2 separate regions of the Homo sapiens genome follow, and region 2 is linked to region 1. The links are contacts of gene promoters, found by promoter capture Hi-C in human tissues and cell types (Jung and others, 2019). All regions are on one chromosome and are shown on one strand. Each heading gives the region's core, a stretch centred on a gene start or on the middle of the fragment in contact. The rest is flanking DNA. Distances are from core to core; before and after follow the strand shown. Region 1 holds the start of OR51D1 (olfactory receptor family 51 subfamily D member 1). Region 2 holds the start of OR52R1 (olfactory receptor family 52 subfamily R member 1).

Region 1 (5,877 bases), core at 117-2,616:
TCCAGCCTGGGTGACACAGCGAGACACCAACTCAAAAACAAAACAAAACAAATAAACAAACAAAAAACGATAAGCCCCTTTCCCCTAGGAAATTTGTGCTTTAAATCAGAGAACTTTGGGGAAAGTTGTTCTGGTGTTCTTGGGGGCAGGGAGGTGAATGAAGAGGGACTATCATTTCCATTTCCAGCTCCCAAACGAACAATAAGCAGCATCTGCCATCAAGATCTCTCAAGCCCCAGGTGAGAGTCAGTCCCAGGTTGCGCTCAGCAAGAGGAGCATGTCATGGAAATCAGATGCAGCTGAGACATGAACAGAAAATCAGCCAGTGCTGCTGCTGTTACTCCACAGTGTTCACAGGCACACACACCTCTCCCTCCACCTACTCTCCCTGGTGATCACACAACGTCCCAGGCTCAACTTCTTTCTCTCTACAGACCACACTGTTCTAAGCCTGTGTCCTGAGATTCAGCCATATAACCTACCGCCTCCTTGATAGTTCTACCTGGATAGCCTATGGGCCTCCCACTCATCTTGCCTCTAACAGGGACCCCTTCCAAACCTGTTCCTGATCTCAGAGAATGCCACTGCTCAGAACCCACATCACCCAAGTCAGGGCAGCTGGTCTCATCTTGACCCGTCTCCTCTTTCACCCCCACATGCAATTCAACTTTTCCAATTAATTATTGGGGCCGTTCCTCTTAATACACCTCCTCCCAACTTAATTATATTATCCACTCTGCCCTGATTATAAAAAGAGCCTTCCAACTTACCTCCCTGCCTCCAAACCTAGTCTATTCCAAACCACCTTCCACACCACTGCCATCTAAACAGCAAAACTGGACACCTGGGGCTCCTGCTGAGCAAGTTAGGAGTGATTCCCATAGCTTTCCAGATAAAGTGAGAACTAGTAACTCCACAGTATGCAGACAAGGCCCTTCACAGTGTTCCTCTAACTCAACTTTCCAGCCCAGCTTCAGTTTCCTTCTTCATCACCAATCACCACCAGCACCACCACAACACACACGTGCACATACACACACACGTACACACTCACACACATTTTTTTCCTGGTAAAGTAATTCCCCTTGCCTTGCTTAAGTGAAGAGTAGGAGGCAGGAACTGAGGAGTCCTGTCCTGGGACAAAGGATAGGCAAAGCTTGGAACGGGTCTCACAGGCTTGAAGAAATTCCTCTGTGTAGGAACAAGGTCCAGGAACCGGGCTACTGTGATCTGGAAAAGGTGTACACTAGAAGACCTCTCCAAGCAGCCAAGCTGACTGATCAAGTCCCGGCTTCCTTATGCAATGAGCCTTCTGTGCCTGTCTCTGCGGACCCTCCCGTTGCCTAACCTCCCTGGGCTGAGCCTGCTACACTCACCACCAGTGCTTCCCCAGCGCATGGAGGCCGCCCAATTATAGCTTCTCTGGGGCCCCTCAGGAGTGTGTAGAGTGATGGAGAGTGAACGAGTCGGGTCTCCCTGGCACTGACGCTCTGCTCAGACGCCCAAGGAAAGCTGAGCCCTGACTCCTACCCAAAGGGACTGAGCTCTATCACTATCCCTCTGAGCCCAGCTCAAGAGACTAGAGGGAGGCTGTGTCGCGGGGTGGAAAGGAGAAGAGGAATAACGGGGCTGGAAGAGAGGACCTGCTGGAATGGAGGGGTGGGCACTCAGCAGAAAGCACGCAGGGATACCAGCGCTCCGAACACACTAACTACCCAAGGGGATCGAAGCTGTGTCAGGGACTCTCGCTTCTTCATGCTGCCACCTTGTGGTCGCACAGGGGATCTTCAGCCTCGTGGCCGTCCCTGAGCAATGGCTCTGAGGATGATGCCTTTAAGAACCAAGGACCCAACTGACTCTAGCATCTGAGCTCTTTCCACTACTCTGCGCTGCCCCTTAGCTCTCCCTCTCACCCTCTCAAGCCCACCCTTTCTTCCTTGGGTCGCTAATCATAGATGTCCTGTCCCTCCAGAAATGAGACCGTGTGGCATGTTTGTTTGAACATGGGGCTCTAGAAGGAAACAGACTTGGGTCCGCCCATTTATTAATAGTATGACTACTATAAGCATTTAGTGTGAAAGCATTTAATGTGAAAAACGAAATGAGATACTAGCAAGTCTCCAGTGAATGTTTGTGTTCATTATTACTAGTCAAAACAAATGGAAGAGCCAAGGACGTAGGAAATCCAGTAGACAGTGCCACAAAAGAGACAGGAAAAAATATATTGACAAGGAAGATTGGTCAGCAGTTCAGAAAGCTGCCGAGAGATCAAGCAGTGAAAAGACTGAAATCAAAGGTCACTGGCTACCTGGATAACAGGGTGGGGGATGGAATCTTGAGTGAAGCAGTGTGAGGAGTGTGTTAGGAAGAGATGAAGAGAGTCGATGTAGACAACCCTTTTAAGATATTTGTACGTGAACAGAGGAGTGAAATGGACAATATTGGGAGGATTTATAGCTCCACAGAGATTTTAAAATGTGTATTTTGGAACTAGAAGAGACTAAATGTCAACAGGATGGAGTTGGCAGAGAGACTCCTTGTCCTTTACTCCTCACATTACTGGTAGCTATGGCCCAGGAAGATAATCTGTCTTCCCCCTCTATATAGTAACTATGAGTAATCTTACTTTGTCCAGTAGCTTTCATCACCCAAGCAGGCCAGACCAATCTCCTAAACTCCAAATATGGTAAAGTCTATTGGACATAGGTGTCCTTCAGGCACCTCAAACTCAACACCTAACTCATCATTTCTAAGCTCATTGATTTCATTATCAACTAAGCTCATCATCTCTGCTCTTCAATCCGGACCCCGCTCCCTGTCTGTTTTATGTTCCCTGTCATATAAATCACTCTGTTGGCCATGTCAAAAATTTAGAAATCATCATCCCTGCCTTCTCCCCATCTCTCTCTCACCTTCCTCTCCAACCACATCCAATCAGTCACCAAGTTCTGTTCATTTTATCTACTAGATATCTATTTTGTGAGTCTGATTATCTTTCTCCATCTTTTTTGCCTTTTCTTCATTCCAAGCCAAGACAGTCTTTTGCCTAGATCATCAGAATAACTTGTTCACTGGTCAGACTCACAGAAGAACTTCCCTACCAATCTGTTGTCTATGCTGTGGCCAGTGTGATCTTCCAAACACATATCAGTTCATGGCAATTCTCCATTGCCTTTAGAATGAACAGTTGAATTCCCCATTGCCTGTAGAATGAACACACTCCTGAACCCAACTCATAGGAACTCCATAAGCCATCTCAGTGCAACTCTCCATCTCCATCTCCAACCATTTTACCTCCCTTTTTGCATACATAAGTCCTATTGGACCCGAAATATTTCCACATCTTCAATGTGCCATGCTCTCTCTCACCCTTCAGCCTTCACATATATTTTTCCCCTGGTAAAAACACTCATCCTATTCCCAGTTTTAATTCTTAGCCTTTTCTGTTTAAACACCCTTGCTTAGAAAGACTTTTCTTGACCCCTAATCTTGGCGGGACCTCTTTACCCTTTTTCTCTTTGTTTTACTGATAGCATTTAACGTTGTGATATTATTTTTCATACTTATGAACATATCTTCGTATCTTTGTAGGGAGGGTGGACACTAATGTGTATGTATAAAAGGAAACGTGAACAGAGTCCTCTTCTATCCACTCTTAAGGCAGAAATTATTGGTCTTGTTGATCTGCACTCATACCTCACAACTCTATGACTTCAACTGAGGCATGTTTAATGGGCAGGCCGCTTAAATTATTATTAATATTAATAACATTATGTACCTAGTTGGCGTAATTTCCACAGGCACTTTTCAAGCATTCATTTTTTTTTCTCTTTTTACAGTATTAAGAATAGATCTTATTAAGGTGACCCAAAGTATGACTTTAAAAATAATAGTTTTCCCTCTACTTATATTTCAATATTTTTTGAAGGAAAGAAGGGAGGAAAAATCACTCAATGTAAATGGAATGCTAAAGGTCCAATGGATAACGGAGAGCTTTGGCCAAACATATACTCATGGCTTAGGAGGTCCTAAAAGATATGAACTTGCCTAATTCGACAGCCCCATCTCATGACACCTCAACTCTCCCTCAATACGGCCCTGCATTGGCATCTTTCTAGTTCCTTAAATAAAGTTCTCTATCTGTACACCTTCTTCTAAGCATTTGCTCAAATGCTTGTTTTATCTGGAATGGTCAACCTCTTTGTTTCCCTCCTCTAAAAACTAACATTTATTTAGATTCTGTTTTAGGTGCTATTTCTATAAGAAGGTCTTTCCTGTAAGATGTTTTCTTGTTTCTTTAGTATCCAAATTTCATTTTTAGATGACCAATGCCATTGTTTTTTGTTACGAGATAATGATATGTGTGTCACACACAAATCCCTACAACCTCCCATGAAAAGAAAGAGTGTAATGGTACCTAAAGATAAAAATGATTCCTTGTGTTAATAACCTGTTATAAAGCAAGAAAAAGAAACATGATATGAGAGTTAGAAAATGAAATTAGTCATTATTTGTAGATTAGTGATTGTATATGTAGAAAATCCAAAAGACTGTATTGATAAGTTATTAGAAATGAGTATGTAAAGATTGCTGAATACAAGGTCAACTTACAAAATTCCACTGTATTTCTTTATAAAATTTTTAAGCATTTACAATAACAGAAAAATCAGATGTCTAAGAGTGAATCTAACAAAGAATGTAGAGGAATTTCTGCACAGAAAACCACAAAGCATCCTTAAAAGACACTGAAGAAGACCTAAATAAATGGAAGAAAACACTATTCTTTTTAACTGGAAAACTCGATAATGTGAAGAATCTACTTAGCCCCCAAATTTTTCCATAGAATCAATACATTCCCAATAATATCCTAATTGGTGATTGTGTAAAATTTGGTAAGCTTGATTAAAATATACATAAAAATGTAAATTGCCAAAATTAGCCACAAAACTCTAGAAGAATAGGACAAAGTGAGATTTTATATACTAAATATCAAAAATTTAAAAACTATAGTAATTATGCATATGTGGTATTTGTTCAGGGATAGACAGTTGAGCCAATGAATGGAAATAAAATTTCAGAAGTATGCCCACTCATACACAGCCAGTTGTTAAATGACAAAGGTAATTCTGTGAGGCAATCAGAAAAGGAGAATTTTTTTATTAAATGATACTACAATAACTGAATATCCATATAGAAGAAAATAAAATTTGAACCCTAAATTCACACTACTTATAAGAATTAAATCTTTGTGGTTTTCATATATAAGTACAAAAGGCAAAGCAATTAGCCTTCCTGAAGTAATATAAAAGAATATTTTTATGACCTCAAGTAAAGATTGACTTCTTAATGCAGTTAATTCATCCATGAATATTTATTGAGTGCCTAATATATGACAGGTACTCTTCTAAGTGATGGAAACACTTTAATGAACAGAACAGACAAACTCTCCTGCTTTTGTGGAGCTTACATGCCAGCCAGTATGATTTAGCTTTCCTCTGTAGGTATATCTGTCTAGATGCATGCCAGATAGTTTTTTTTTTCACTTGCAGTTTATAAATTTCATTAGGAATTATCTAGAAATAGATCTTTTATTTTATAAATAAGTGAGCATGGCATATCTCCAAATGCTAGTGAAGATGCAGAGAAACAACCTCTAATGCATTGCAGGCGAGAATGTAAAATGGCACAACTACTCCGGAAAATAGTTTAGTAGTTTTTTTTTATTAAATTTTAAGTTTTGGGATACATGTGCAGAACATGCAGGTTTGTTACATAGGTATACATGTGCCATGGTGGCTTGCTGCATCTATCAACCATTATCCAGATTTTAAGTCCCACATGCATTAGGTATTTGTCCTAATGTTTTCCCTCCCCTTG
Region 2 (5,785 bases), core at 213-2,712, 170 kb before region 1:
AAAAACTCAAAGAGTGGAATAAACTCAGGTAAGATGAATAGAGACAGACAGTGGGGCTCACACAGTATCTACTGTAGCAGGGCAACCTCTATGGCCTCAAGGTAGTCAATAGGGCTCTGTCTGGGTATTTAGAATATTGTTAATCAGTTAATGAGTCTGCTGCCTTTGAATAATGACATTTATTTGCTACTTTCCTCAGGAATATTTTATTAAATTCCTACTCTGCACCAAGCACAGAGATGCTAGAGATAGTGTGGGGTTCACAGCTGACTTCATGAAAAATTCCTCTTCTAGGACAGAGGTTGGCAAACTATAGCCTGGAAACCAACACCTGCTTGCAACCCATTTTTGTAAACAAAGGTTTATTGGAACACACCACACTCACACATTTATGTGTTGACTATGGTTACTTTCACACTACAATGGCTGAATTGATCTGCTGCAACAGACAGTATAGGCCACAATTTCTCAAAATTTTGTGATCTCACTTTTTAAAGAAAAAAAGTTTGCTAACTTCTTGTCTAGGAGAAACCTACACTAAAGATAATAAATTAAATTATAAATGTACAATTGGTCAGTAGATTAACTTCCCACCCAAGCCCTTGTGGTAACTGACCTAGATTCAAAGCTAACTTCAAAGCAATACATAAATTGCTATAGGCTTGCAAACTCTACTGACTTCCTACTCTGAGAAATTGGCCAAGTGGCTAACCAGAGGTTTAAAAAGGACCTGTGGAAAAGTTTAAGCTAATCAGCTGTTAGTTCTATAGAACTGAAGAGCAAGAATTACTATAATATTACTTGTCATGATGATTTTCCCTTAGCAGATGCTACTTTCAAGAAAAATATTGATTCATTTTTTTTTTTTTTTTTTGAGGCGGTTTCGCTCTGACACCCAGGCTGGAGTGCAGTGGTGTGAGCTCAGCTCACTGCAACGTCCAACTCCTGGGTTCAAGTGATTTTCCTTCCTCAGCCTCCTGAGTAGCTGGGACTATAGGCGTGCTCTACCATGCCTGGCTAATGGGGTTTTTTTTTGTTTTGTTTTGTTTTTGTATTTTTAATAGAAAAGGGGTTCCACTATGTCAGCCAGGCTGGTCTTGAACTCCTGACCTCAAGCAATCTGCCTGCCTCAGCCTCCCAAAGTGCTAGGATTATAGGTGTAAGCCACCACACCTGGTCAAGAAAAATATTGATTCTTAAAAAACAGTTACACATGCAACTAGTATGTTCTACCCCATTTTGAATGACATAAGTACGAAAAACAACAGTAACATCATGTCATGTTGTAACATATTATTTATTAAAACAGTTGAAATTATTCTAGTTTATAATCAAACCCAATCACCCTGGTATCCAATAGTCCCATCCAAAAGCCTTGTATATAATAATAACACTTGTTTTGATTGTTATCATCTGCAGAGAGTAGATTGCGTTCCCAGCAGAGACCATATTAACCAGTCCATGGTGCTGGCTTCAGGGAACAGCTCTTCTCATCCTGTGTCCTTCATCCTGCTTGGAATCCCAGGCCTGGAGAGTTTCCAGTTGTGGATTGCCTTTCCGTTCTGTGCCACGTATGCTGTGGCTGTTGTTGGAAATATCACTCTCCTCCATGTAATCAGAATTGACCACACCCTGCATGAGCCCATGTACCTCTTTCTGGCCATGCTGGCCATCACTGACCTGGTCCTCTCCTCCTCCACTCAACCTAAGATGTTGGCCATATTCTGGTTTCATGCTCATGAGATTCAGTACCATGCCTGCCTCATCCAGGTGTTCTTCATCCATGCCTTTTCTTCTGTGGAGTCTGGGGTGCTCATGGCTATGGCCCTGGACTGCTACGTGGCTATCTGCTTCCCACTCCGACACTCTAGCATCCTGACCCCATCGGTCGTGATCAAACTGGGGACCATCGTGATGCTGAGAGGGCTGCTGTGGGTGAGCCCCTTCTGCTTCATGGTGTCTAGGATGCCCTTCTGCCAACACCAAGCCATTCCCCAGTCATACTGTGAGCACATGGCTGTGCTGAAGTTGGTGTGTGCTGATACAAGCATAAGTCGTGGGAATGGGCTCTTTGTGGCCTTCTCTGTGGCTGGCTTTGATATGATTGTCATTGGTATGTCATACGTGATGATTTTGAGAGCTGTGCTTCAGTTGCCCTCAGGTGAAGCCCGCCTCAAAGCTTTTAGCACACGTTCCTCCCATATCTGTGTCATCTTGGCTCTTTATATCCCAGCCCTTTTTTCTTTCCTCACCTACCGCTTTGGCCATGATGTGCCCCGAGTTGTACACATCCTGTTTGCTAATCTCTATCTACTGATACCTCCCATGCTCAACCCCATCATTTATGGAGTTAGAACCAAACAGATCGGGGACAGGGTTATCCAAGGATGTTGTGGAAACATCCCCTGAGCAAAGGGTCAGTGTATCCCCATCACTTACATTGCCCCACTAATGTGGGGACATTAATGAACATTTGACAGGCTATTACTTATTATCACTAAGTCAGCTCTGTAAATAACTGGCTCAGAGGTAAGCAACCCTCTAGAGGCAAGAGAAACAATTTTCAGGGTACCTAGAAAAGAGATACCTGAGAGATGTGATGGATAAGAACAACTTTGTTGACTACATATTCATCATCACATGGAAACAATAAAAGTAGTTTTACCTATTAAATCAGTGAATATTTTAAAAGAATGTCATCTCCCACAGATGATTAAGGTAAAAAAGTTGTTTTTACACTGTCAGTAGAAGTAGGTACACTTTGCTTAAAAGAAATTTAGAAATTTACATCAAATAATTTAAAAGTACATATATTTCTTCATCTGAGAATATGTTTATAAAAATAAAGTGCATATGTACAAAGACATGCATAAAATCATGCCTTATAAAAACAAAATATAAAATGATTCAAATATTGTCCTATAAGATTACAGATGAAGCAATACTCTGTTGAATATCAGGTGCCATTTAACTATTTTATTTGAAAGGACTATCTGAAAATTTGACAAATAAGCAAGATATAATCTTAAATTGAAAAGAAAAACTATCGCCCATAAGGCTTGGTACCAATTCTATACTGGAATACGTACGTAAAGAAAGGAATTCAGGAAATATATCCAAATGATAAAAAATAGCTGCTTGGAGTAGTGATGCTTATGGCATTTTCATTATATTTTTATACTTTAGTGTATTTTTAAATTTAATTTAATTATGTTTTTATTGATAAAAATGATTTTACATATTTATGTGATACAGTGTGATGTTCACCTAGTACTTATCACAAGATGGCTTTTGCAGGTCCAGGTCCATTTTTATCTCATTTCTCCAAAATTGAATACAATACCATACCTCTCAGTCCCAAGGACTTCTTTTATCACCCTACATAATTAAAATTGTAAAGGATATTGTCAGATAAGATAAATTTGTTATACAGATAGCAAATTGTCCTCCAGTCACTTTTTTAATGAAAAATAAAATATTTGTAACATTTTAAATTTCTATTCAAGTAATATATTGAGCAATTACTCTTCACCTAGCATTCTGCCAAAAGGTGGGGATAGAATAGGGAACAAAAGAAACTGACAAACAGAACATCTAATTTGCATGATTTCCACCCAAAATCAAAACAATGAATACCTGCAATTCCAGCCCAAATATAGACATTAATTAGTTAAGCTGTATTACTCTATCATGATTGTAAGTAAACTTAAATATTCTGAACCAATGAAAATAGATGACTAACTTCATTATAACATGAAGAATCCTTATGTCCAAAATATAAAGCATATGACTAACTCAAATGTGCCTGTAGTTGATATGATTTGGACCTGGCTCCCCTCCAAATCTGTTGAAATGTGATTCCCAGTGTTGGAGGTGGGGCCTAGTGGGAGGGATTGGATCATGGGGACAGATCCTTCATGAATGGCTTAGCACTATCTCCTTGGTGATGAGTGAGTTCTTTCTCAGTTAGATCATGCGAGATCCGGTTATTTAAAAGAGTCCTAACTGGGCTCGGTGGTTCACACCTGTAATCCCAGCACTTCGGGAGCCGAGGCAGGCGGATCACGAGGTCAAGAGATCAAGACCATCCTAGACAACATGGTGAAACCCGGTCTCAACTAAAAATACAAAATTAGCTGGACATGGTGGTGCACGCCTCTAGTCCCAGCTACTTAGGAGGCTGAGGCAGGAGAATCGCTTGAACTGGGGAAGCGGAGGTTGCGGTGAGCAGAGATCATGCCATTGGACTCCAGCATGGGCAACAAGAGTGAAACTCCATCTCAAATAAATAAATAAATAAATAAATAAATAAATAAATAAATAAATAAATAAATAAAAAGTCCGGGACCTCCCCCTCCCCCTTCTCTCTCTCATTCCCACTCCTGCCATGTGATGTACCAGCTCCTCCTTTGTCTTCTGCCATGATTGCACACTTTCTGAGGCCTCACCAAAAACAAGCTGGCACCCATGCTTGTGCAGCCTGCAAAACTGGGACCTAATTAAACTTTTCTTTATAAATAACCCAGCCTCAGATATTTTTTTATCGTGATGCAATGGACTAACAAAGGAAATTTGTACCAAGTATAGGGTAGTTGCTGTAAAGACACCTGAAAATGTGGAAGCTGCTTTGGAACTGGGTAATGGGCAGAGGTTAGAAGAGTTCAGAGAACTCAGAAGAAGACAGGAAGACAAGGGAAAGTTTGGAACTTCTTAGAGACTGGTTAAATAATTGTGACCAAAATGCTGATAGAAATATGGGCAGTGAAGTTCATATGAACTTGAAGTGAAGAAATGAACTAAGTCCACATGAACTTGAAGTGAAGTGAAGAAATATGGACAGTAAAATCCAGGCTGATGAGTTCTCAGATGGAAATGAGGAAGCTATTGGGAGCTGGAATTAAGGTCATTTGTGTTGCACCCGAGCAAAGAGCATGGCTGCATTGTGTCCATGTCCTAGGGACCTATGAAAGTTTGAACTTAAAAGGGATGACTTAGTGTATCTGGAATAAAAAATTTCTAAGCAGCAAACCATGCAAGAGATGGCCTCACTGCATCTAACAGGCTACAATCAGATATAGGAGCAAATAAATGACTTAAAGTAGGAACTTATATTTAAAAGGGAAGGAGAGCATAAACATTTGGAAAAGTCACAATCTGGCAATGTGATAGAAGAGGAAAGAGCATTTCCAGGGAGGAAGTCAAGTAAGCTCTGGAGAAATCACTTGCTAGAGAGATTAGTATGACTATAAAGAAGCCAAGTGCTAATATCCAAGCCAATGGGAAAAAAGGTCTTGAAGGCATTTCAGAGTATTTTGAGGTAGTCCATCCCACCACAGGCCTAGAGGCCCAGGAAGAAAAAAATGGTTTTGGGGGCCAGGCCTAGGGACCACTCTCCTGTGTAGCCTTGGGACACTGCTCCCTGCATCCTGACTGCTCCAGCTACAACCATGGCTCAAAGGGCCCTAGGTGCAGCTTGGGCTGCCACTCTAGAGTGTGCCAGCTGTAACTCTTGGCAGCTTCCATGTGGTGTTAAGTCTGCAGGCACACAGAAAGCAAGCATGAAGGAGGCTTGCAGGCTTCCCCCTAAATTTCAGGGGATATACTGGAAAGCCTGAGTGCCTAGGCAGAAGCCTGCTGCAGGGGAAGAACACTAACAGAGAGACTCTAGTAAGCCAGCGCTGAAGGGAAATGTGGTGTCAGAGTGTCCACACAGTCTCCACTGGGCCACTGACTAGTGGACCTGTGGAAGGGGGGCCACTGCCCTCCAGATCCCAGAATAGTAGAG

The links. Contacts are between HindIII fragments. The study calls those that stand out against the background at their distance.
Region 2: the fragment with the promoter of OR52R1 here is called in contact with the fragment with the promoter of OR51D1 in region 1 in 1 of the 25 tissues and cell types used here (ovary).

What each region holds. Positions count from the first base shown.
Region 1 is chr11:4,632,966-4,638,842 of GRCh38, reverse strand. OR51D1 (olfactory receptor family 51 subfamily D member 1) reads right to left here and starts at 1,366. Exons shown (of 2, transcript NM_001004751.3): 1 at 1,090-1,366. The HindIII fragment of the contact is 12,772 bases long and covers 1-3,027 here.
Region 2 is chr11:4,800,057-4,805,841 of GRCh38, reverse strand. OR52R1 (olfactory receptor family 52 subfamily R member 1) reads left to right here and starts at 1,462. Exons shown (of 1, transcript NM_001005177.3): 1 at 1,462-2,409. The coding sequence starts at 1,462. The coding sequence ends at 2,409. All of the region lies in intron 2 of MMP26 (matrix metallopeptidase 26), which reads right to left. The HindIII fragment of the contact is 16,304 bases long and covers 1-4,569 here.